Linked DNA regions of Homo sapiens: region 2 is linked to region 1. The links are contacts of gene promoters, found by promoter capture Hi-C in blood cells and fetal thymus (Javierre and others, 2016). All regions are on one chromosome and are shown on one strand. The core of a region is centred on a gene start or on the middle of the fragment in contact, and the rest is flanking DNA. Distances in the headings are between cores, read along the strand shown. Region 1 holds the start of PPFIA1 (PPFI scaffold protein A1). Region 2 overlaps ANO1 (anoctamin 1).

Evidence for each region. Contacts are between HindIII fragments. The CHiCAGO score rates a contact against its expected background, and 5 or more counts as called.
Region 2: a contact is called between a fragment that was not itself captured here and the fragment with the promoter of PPFIA1 in region 1, in 1 of 17 cell types (neutrophils). The highest score is 5.3, in neutrophils.

What each region holds. Positions count from the first base shown.
Region 1 is chr11:70,267,027-70,271,939 of GRCh38, forward strand. PPFIA1 (PPFI scaffold protein A1) reads left to right here and starts at 3,664. Exons shown (of 28, transcript NM_003626.5): 1 at 3,664-3,888. RefSeq lists silencers at 3,249-3,798, 3,839-4,268. The HindIII fragment of the contact is 13,908 bases long and covers 1-4,913 here.
Region 2 is chr11:70,183,048-70,187,606 of GRCh38, forward strand. It overlaps ANO1 (anoctamin 1), which reads left to right. Exons shown (of 26, transcript NM_018043.7): 25 at 2,543-2,648. Among named protein-coding and RNA genes, the nearest start is that of FADD, 18 kb to the right of the region's middle. The HindIII fragment of the contact is 986 bases long and covers 1,122-2,107 here.

The DNA of each region.
Region 1 (4,913 bases), core at 2,414-4,913:
ATTCAGTCTCAAAAAAAATGACTGTGAATGTCACCAAGTTTTCTGTCATTTGGAAGTGCAATAATTTAACCAATCTTGTTTTCTTGGCCATTTAGGTTGTTTACGATTTCCCCCTTACTGATTTTGCGATCTGGGGGAATGAAATAATAAATGAATTAAAATGAATGAGGGCCATGAGTGGTGGCTCATGCCTGTAATTCCAGCACTTTGGGAGGGTGAGGTGGGAGGATTGCTTGGGCTCAGGAGTTTGAGACCATCCTGGGCAACATGGTGAAACCTCTTTTCTACCAAAAATACAAAAAAGTTAGCCAGGCATGGTGGTCTGCGCTGGTAGTCCCAGCTACTTGTTGGGGAGCTGAGGTGAGATGACTGATGGGCCTGGGAGGTAGAGGCTGCAGTAAACTGTGTTCGAACCACTATATCCCAGCCTAGGTGACTACATGAGACCCTGTCTCAAAAAAAAAAAAAAAAAGAGAGAGAAAAAGAACAAAGGAAGGGTAAGGGGAGGGGAGGGAGGGAGAGAGAGAGAGGAAGGAAGGAAGGAAGGAAGGAAGGAAGGGAGGAAGGAAGGAAGGAAGGAAGGAAGGAAGCAAGGAAGGAAGGAAAAAGAAAGAAAAGAAAGAAATAAAATGAAATTCAGAATTCTCATTTTCCTGGAGCTATACCAACTGGGTGTCTCCCTTCTCCGCTGGAAAAATCCCACATCATTCAAGACCCAGCTCAGATATTGCCTCCTCTATGAAGCCCCCATGATGCCAGCTGGAGAGCGGGTTCCTCCCTTCCCTGTGATTCCACAGCACCAAGTCACACACTGTTTACGGGACAGACATTGCAATAGTCTGTTTTTCTTCTCTTTCTCCAGACTGTGAACTCATACTAGAAGTGATGTCTTAGCTCTGCGTTCCCAAGACCTAAGCCATGCTTGGCTCATACATGCTGCACAAATATTCATGAAATGAATGAACATTCTACCCTGCCGAACTAAATTTTGATCTTGAGCCGATTTTTCTTTTTTTTTTTTTTTTTGAGATGGAGTCTCGCTTTGTTGCCCAGGCTGGAGTGCAGTGGCGCGATCTCGGCTCGCTGCAAGCTCCGTCTCCCGGGTTCACGCCATTCTCCTGCCTCAGCCTCCCGAGTAGCTGGGACTACAGGCGCCTGCCACCACGCCCGGCTAATTTTTTGTATTTTTAGTAGAGACAGGGTTTCACTGTGTTAGCCAGGATGGTCTCGATCTCCTGAACTCGTGATCCGCCTACCTCGGCCTCCCAGAGTGCTGGGATTACAGGCGTGAGCCACTGCGCCCGGCCTTGAGCCGATTTCTTAGAAAACAGACACTTTATGAGCATGGTGCAAACATAAGCTGGCTGCATTAAGCAGGTACCCCTAAGGAGAGCTGGAAATTTGCTGGTTTCAGACAGTGGTTCAGGGGAACTTGGGAGTTGTGCAGAATTGCTGGGGTGTGGAGAGGTACAGGGTACTTGCAGAACACCTCATCTAAGCGATCAACTTTACAATTTTATTATTTTTGAGACAGAGTCTCGCTTTGGCACCCAGGCTGGAATGCAGTGGCACAATCACAGCTCACTGCAGCCTCGACCTCTCAGGCTCAAGCGATCCTCCCACCTCAATCCCCCAAGTACCTGGGACTACAGGTGTGGCCCACCTTGCTGGACTAATTTTTAATTTTTTGTATAGACATGGGTCTCGATATATTGCCCAGGCTCAAGCAATCCTCCCACGTTGGCCCCCCAGCGTGCTGGGATTACAGACGTGAGCCACTGCACCTGGCCAATGTTTTTTTTTTTTTTTTTTTTCTGAGACAGAGCCTCGCTTTGTCTCCCAGCCTGGAGCGCAGTGGCATGATCTCCTCATTGCAACCTCCACCTCCCAGGTTCAAGCTATTCTTCCACCTCAGCCTCCTGAGTAGCTGGGATTACAGATGCCCGCCACCACACCCGGCTAATTTTTGTATTTTTAGTAGGGATAGGGTTTCACCATGTTGGCCAGGCTGGTTTTGAACTCCTGACCTCAAGTGATCTGCCCACCTGGGTCTCCCAAAGTGCTGGGATTACAGGCTTGAGCCACCGCACCCGGCCTCACCTGGCCATTTTTACACTTTTAAAATAGCAAGAAACTAGGGGCAAAAAGTACATATTCATATCTATGTGTAGTCAGTCAATAAATATTTATTGAATGAACGAATAAATTAATGGAAGGTGTTCCAGATCCTGGTAGGCGAGAGTCAGTCGGAGGGAGTGCTTGTTCTTGGTGCACTCACAATGGAGAATCAAGGAATTCACCTTGGACGGGCTCATTTCTCCCTCTCCTAGGCCCCGTGCAGCCTCTTCTCAGACTTACTAGTTCTGAGGGGCTCCTGGCTGCCTCACACCAACAGCAGTGGCCAGTGGACACTGGCGATGGTGTCCTGACATTTTGGTTTGTGAAGAGTTTGTGCTCCGAGTCAAATCCTGGGAGGAGTGGGGAGGGCATCCGCTTTAATTAATTAGAGGTGTCTCTATTCATCTCCGTATCTGCAACATCTAGCACAAGACTTGGCCCATAGTAGATGTTTAAAAATTCTTGCTGAGGCCGGGCGCAGTGGCTCACGCCTGTAATCCCAACACTTTGGGAGGCTGAGGCGGGCAGACCACCTGAGGTCAGGAGTTCGAGACCAGCTCGACCAACATGTAGAAATCCCGTCTCTACTAAAAATACAAAATTATCTGGACTTGGTGGCGTGCGCCTGTAATCCCAGCTACACGGGAGGTTGAGGCAGGAGAATCACTTGAACCCGGGAGGCAGAGGTTGCAGTGAGCCGAGATGGCGCCATTGCACTCCAGCCTGGGTGACAAGAGTGAAACAACGTCTGGAAAAAAAAAAAAACTTGCGGAAAAGATGAAATGACCAAGACTCGCGCAGTGCTGCCCGTCAGGCTCTCAACTAGTCGCTCTTCACATCTGATTCATGTCTTAAAGCAGCCTCGCAGGTAGGTCTGCATCATTTTCCCATCCTACATCGGAGGCGCTGAAGCCCAGGCGGGTTTCCCGAGTCGCCCGGGCCCACGCTGCAGAGTGAAAGCCACAGCGGCAAAGCCTGCACTCTGGACGCTGCGCCGGGACGTCCCCAGGTGCGGCAGGCAGCGCTCCGTAAGTGGGTCCTGGCGGGAACTCCGTCCTTCTGAACCCAGATCAGGCCCAGGGAGACCGTAGGGGCGCCGCGGCGGGCGGGGTCTGGGTCCTCGGTGGTGACTGAAGCCTCGGTTCGCTCTTCTGCAAGGTGCGAATCCAGAGCCTCCAGCTCGGGAGGGACCTGACGTGCCGGACGCGTCCAGCTCAGAACTCGAGGCGCGGTAGACACTCAGCAAAGGCCTCCGGCGTCCCTGCAGCCGTGGGGGGAAACTGGGGACGCCCGGAGGAAGACGCTGACCCGGCGAGCACCTGAGCGCCCACCTGTGGCTCATCCCGGAGACCGCCCCCTCCCCCGCGACCCGGGCGGGGCCTGGGGGGCGTGGCTCCCGTCTCGCTCAGCCAATCAGTGCCCCGGGGCCGCCTCCCGCCCCCTCCTGAGGAGACAGCGCTTGCGTACTCGGGCCAAGGTGCTCCTCGGGCCCCGCCCCCGGGGCGGTGCTGACGCTCGCGCCGACGCGCTCGACGTCGGGCACGTAGACGCCGGCGCCGCGCAGCCGGGCCCGCTCCTCCTCCGCTCCGCCAGTGTCCGGCCGCGGGCCGGCCTTAGTGACTGGGGCGGCGGGCCCCGGGGCCGCGGCGTGGGGCGGGCAGGCGGACGCCGGCCGCGGGCTGCTTTCGTCGGCTCCCAAGCTCTCCCGGAGCGAGCAGCCGCCCGCGAGCCGCCGCGGAGCCTCCTCGCCCGCTCCCGCCGGCGAGCAAGGTAAGGGAGCGGGACACTGAGGCAGGCTCGGGGCCCAGGCGTCACCGGCGCGTCCCGGTCTCCGCGGCGGCCACGCAGCCGATTAGATGTCTCCGCGGGGAAGGGTGCGCTCCGGGACGGGTGGGGGCGAGGCCGCGGCGCCGGGTCGCGCTGGGAGAGCTCCGGCGGGACACCCGCGCCCCAAGGGACGGCTCCGGGGACTGCGCGCTGCCCCTCCCCGAGCCCCGCGCCCCGTGACCCGGGCGCTGGGGCGAGGGGCGGGGACCTGTGGCCGCTGAAAGCCCTGGCCCGAGCGGGCTCCGTTGTCAACGGTCCTCACCCCCCGGGGTTCGGGGCTTCCGCCGCACCTGATACAGGAGGGGAGGAGTGCGGCTCGAGCAGGCTGGAGGTCACCATCCCCATCAGGTGCGCCGTCTGGGGCATCCCCCTCTCAGGGGTCCACCGCGCCCCCAGTACTGCCCGAAAGGCTCAGAAGCGACTTCCCCTTTCCCTGGCGCTGTCTTTATATCCCAGACACTTAATAGACTCTCGTAATCTCACCTTTCACTTTTCCCTCTTTCCTAGCCGCCCCCGGCTGTATCGACCTGCTATATTTCCATTGTGGATTTTTTTTTTCGGTTGTAAACTTACGTAAGTTAGGTTGACCAACCGTTGCAGCCATTGGAAAACACTTCTACCAGCGTTTAACGAATCCGGTTCCTTTTAGTGCTCACCAAATCCAGCCCAAGAATTCAGGGAGCCGTCAGTTCTTCCCGGGAGCTGACTGCACACATTCCTGCAAGATGCCTGATGGATTTTGTACTTGTCAGTTTTGCTGGTTGTATGCTCCTTCTGTGCTTTTCCTGAAAAATGATTGGGTGACATGTGTTTTGACTTTCTCCCCCCCTACCCCCCCACCCTCCCCACCCCACTGGGAAGTAAAAAAAATAGGTAACAGAAGCACACTTGTTTTCAGCAAAAACAAGTACAGCTTTGCAAACAGACTACCCCAGGGCTTGCCCTTTTTTGTGAGGGTAGTCCTTTGG
Region 2 (4,559 bases), core at 365-2,864, 86 kb before region 1:
GCAGTGAGCTATGATCGCACCACTGCACTCCAGCCTGGGCAACAGAGTGAGACCCTATCTATAAAGAAATAAACAAATGCCTAAGGGGAGGAAATTAGAGGTGATTTACCAGTTCCTGTAACTAAGAAGCCCAGGATAGCTTCAGGCATGGCTGGATCCAGGAGCTACAGTTTGCCATCAGGCTCCACTCTGGCACTGCCTCTCCACTTTGATTTCCTCTGTGTTGCATTGTTCTCTTGCTGATGAAAAGGATCCCTAGCAGCTCCTGGCTTCAATCCTTTCTGCTCTGCAGCCCCTGTGGGAAGACCTTCTGTTTCCCAATAGTCAGTGAAAATCCAGGGACTGAGTCTTACTGCCCCATCTTGGGTCAGATGTCCATTCTTGAACCAACCACTATTGCCATGAGGAGGGGGGCTCTCCTTGGCTTGGCCTGGGTCATGTGCCAGGGTGTGAGGTCACAGAGAATGGGGGGGTCCTAGGGAAAACTGGGGTGCTATGACTTGAAGAAGAGGAGACAGATGCTAGCAGGCAAAGCCTTGAGCACAGAATAAAGAGGAACGAGCTGGTGCGTGTGGCTTCTGACACTGGGAGGACAGGGCTGCTTGTTCCCATGGGAAAGCAGGTTGTGCAACTTCTGCCTGGCCCAGCAGCTGGCACCAGAGCCGTGGCCCAGCCTGATCCTATCTCAGGAGTTGGCAGCTCAGTGCTGAATAGGCCCTCGGAGACTCCCATCCAGCTCCCTCCAGAAATCAAGCTCCGTAGGCAAGGGCCCTATCTGTTGTGCACCGCCCCCCACCCCGGAATTCTCCATCCCTGGGGTGGGGTCTGGCACATAGTAGTTGGTCAATAAATGCTTGTGACATAAGTAAGTGAGGGAATGCCCAGACTGAGGCCCAGAGAGGTCAAGTGATTGCCCAGGGGACACACAGCAAGGTGGTAGTCGGAGTGGGCGAGCACCAGGGATGTGGGTCCAGGCCAGGGCTGTGCCTGCAAATCCAGGTGGCCCTTCTCCTAGCCTCCCCGACTGACCTCAGGTTTTAGTGACCAACAGGGGCACAAACGGCCCCTGAGCCCCTGGAAATCCTGCCCCTCATGGGGGCATTTTCTGTCCAGCTTTGGGAAGCTTTTCCAATGCAGGGTGGGGACGTCAGCTCCATTCAAGCTATGTTCCAGCTGATGTGTGGCATCCCCCAGATTCAGGGAGCTGTGGAGGGAGGGAGGCCCTAGGCAGAGACCTCACCCTGCCCCCACAGACCCTGGGCATCTCTGGGTCTCTGTGAAAAGAGGAAGGGGCTGGGGAGAACTGGAGCACGGGCAGTGGTCATGAATGGGGCAAGCCTCCTTCCTGAGGCTCCAATCATATCCACGAAGAGCCAAGGTCAGTGGCAGGACCTTGGGGAGAGGGGTGTGAGTGAGCTTGACTCTCCAAGCAGGAGATCAGTCAGCTACATCTAAAGCTGGTAATGAGAACCAGGGGCAGTTCCTTCAAGATAAGGAGGTGAGGACCAAGCAGCAACCCTGGAGGAGGAAAAGCAGCCCCAGACCCGGGTAGGGCAGGGCGGGCCAGGCCGGCTGCCTGACACGCCTCTGCCTGCACCAGCGGAATGCTTAGCTTCGTTCTTTCGCAAATGTTTGATAAACTGCTTAAGTTACTTTGATAAAATGTTCAGGGTATTGTTTTGCTGTGTTTTTTGGTTGTTGTTTGGTTTGCTTTTTTTAGAGACGGTCTCACTTTGTGGCCCAGGCTGAAGAGCAGTGGCGTGATCAAAGCTCACTGCAACCTCAACCTCCCGGGCTCAGGTGATCCTCCCACCTCAGCCTCCCGAGTAGCTGGGAATACAGGCGTGCACTGCCAGGCCCGGCTAATTTTTGTATTTTTTGCAGAGACAGGGTTTTACTGTGTGGCCCAGACTGATCTCTAACTCCTCAGCCTGAGATTACAGTGCTGAGGTTACAGGCACGAGCCACCACACCTGGCTAATAAAGTGCTCAGAGGTTTTTCTTTGGTAGATTCCCTCAAAGAGGGGATGGACTGGAGGGGTGTTTCATGGAACCCATTCTGAAGTTCTGTGGAGCATGGGCGTTGGGTTGAGGTTCAGGAGGTTCAAGCTTAGGGAACCCCCCCGACTTCAACCAAGTAGGCTCTGCACTCTTGGGGCCTATTGGAGTTTCCAGTGAGACCTTTTGGGAACAAAGGCTCCACTGCTTTTAAAAGTTTGCAACCTCCTGGACCACATGGTCCCCACCCTTGATTCTGTGAGCCCACGGCTGGGCCTGGGGATACTTCCTGCCACATGTGTTTTACATGAAGCCCGTCAGGTCCTGCCTGGCCCATGGGGGATCCTGACCAACCCCCTCCACTGTGGAGAGAGACTCCGTGGGTGCGGGGCCATGGGCTGCTCGCCCAAGAGAGGGCTGCCCTCCCGGAGGCAGCCGCACACCAAGCTGAGCCTCTCCCAGGCGTCCCTCGAGCTGCCTGACTCCAGCCAGAGCCTGAGCCCCACCGAAGTCCCACCCTCGACTCCACCACGGTCTTTTGCAGGTATAAAGACTACCGAGAGCCGCCGTGGTCGGAAAACAAGTACGACATCTCCAAGGACTTCTGGGCCGTCCTGGCAGCCCGGCTGGCGTTTGTCATCGTCTTCCAGGTGCGGTGGGTCCCTCTTTGTTTCCGGTTTGAAGATGGGAGCATTTAGGGACCATCCTGTGCCTACAGTCTGGAAGTCAGGAGCTGCTAAAGCCAGGGGTTCAGAGACTCCTCCAGAGGCTTGGAGAACTTGCTCTGGGACACCCGAGGAGGGGACTTGGCCGACCCCAGGCCCCCTGCACTGACAGGGCCCAAGACAACCTCATGAGAGAGGAAGGCCAATAGAGGGGCCGGATGAGCACCGGCAGAAGGGTTCTGACTCGCTGGTGGGTTTAATCCAGTAGAAGTGTCTTTATTGAAAGAGACAGGGGCCAGGCACAGTGGCTCACACCTGTAATCCCAGCACTTTGGGAGACCGAGGCAGGTGGATCACCTGAGGTCAGGAGTTCAAGACCAGCCTGGCCAACATGGTGAAACCCTGTCTCTACTAAAAATATCAAAAATTAGCCGGGTGTGGTGGTGCACACCTGTAATCCCAGCTACTCAGGAGGCTGAGGCAAGAGAATCACTTGAACCCAGGAGGCAGAGGTTGCAGTGAGCCGAGATCGTGCCACTACACTCCAGCTTGAGCAACAAGAGTGAAACTCCATCTCAAAAAAGAGAGAGAGAGAAAAGAAGGAGAAGGAGAGGAGGAGGAGGAGGACGAGGAGGGGGAGGGAGGAAGGAAGGAAGGAAGGAAGGAAGGAAGGAAGGAAGGAAGGAAGAAAGACATGGAGAAAGGGGACCCCACCTCTGTCCCTCTCATTCTCACACCATGTCTGTGGTAGCAGGCAGAGTCAGGACAGACAGGAGGGCAGTGGGCTGTCAGATGACCCCAGCTGCAGCCAGCAGCCAGGGGACCCAGCCCCAGCTGGCCCAGTCTCTAGGGAGGGGTCTGGGCCAACTCTCTGAGGCCAGAGGGACTCCCAGTGGAGCGGGACCCCAGGCTAGGGTGCCAGCTGTGCACCGGCAGCTGAGGTCCCAGAGAGGCAGTATCCTGGGCTGTGGGCACCGCCAAGATTCTGCTCGCAGGTGTCCCTCTAGTCTCGATTAAGTCGATGCTAGGAAGGCAGTGGGCCAAGGGCTCTGATTCTGGAATCCCCAAGACTGGGTTCAAGTCCCAGTTCTGTCACAGGGCAGGCCCTTCCACTCCTCTAAGCTCAGTGGCCCCATCCATCAGCTTTTCACAGCAAGCAGTGCAAAAGGTGTGTGGGGCTGGGTTCCGCAGACCAGAGCCTGAGAGCCCAGCAAGGAGGGGTCTCGGCCAGAGACAGCCCAGCCTTATCCCAAGGGAGCCCCGGAGCAGGCATGGCACCCCAGACCTGGCCTCACCTGGAGGCAAGGCAGCCCCTAGATGGACCAGTCACTGCTTTGGGCTGACCAGGCTGGGAAGAGGGAGATGGGATGGGGCATAAGTTCTGCAGCTGCGAGCGTGAGCAGCCAACCCCAGCCCCAGCTGGGGACTGGGAGCACCAACCAGGAGAAGACACCAATCCAGGGGGCACCAGCACCGCCCGTGGCGGGAACCTGCTCAGCCGGGGGTGCTCACACGTGCTTGCTGGACAGATGTTCAGCAAACAAGAAGATTCCGTTTTTCCATAAAAACTGACTTATGTTGCCTTCTATCCACCAGAAATGTCTCCGTGGAGGTGGTAGATGTTCAGGGAGACCCTGGGACGCTTTGCAAACTGTAAAAGTTTGATCCATTTGTGGCTATTTCCAGTTTCATGTTTTTCCCCAAAGGCTCGATGCTCGTTAGATTTGGCGATGTGTGATCCATCAGGTCACTTCCTGAGTCTCCTGATCAAAGAATTCAGAATGACTCAGATGATTTTCCCAATTACTGAGTTCAGATTTGTTCGAGAAAGTCGGCCAACATTTCCCAGAGGCCTGCCGGGTGGTTCTATGCCTCCTTTATAGCTTCTGGAAAACT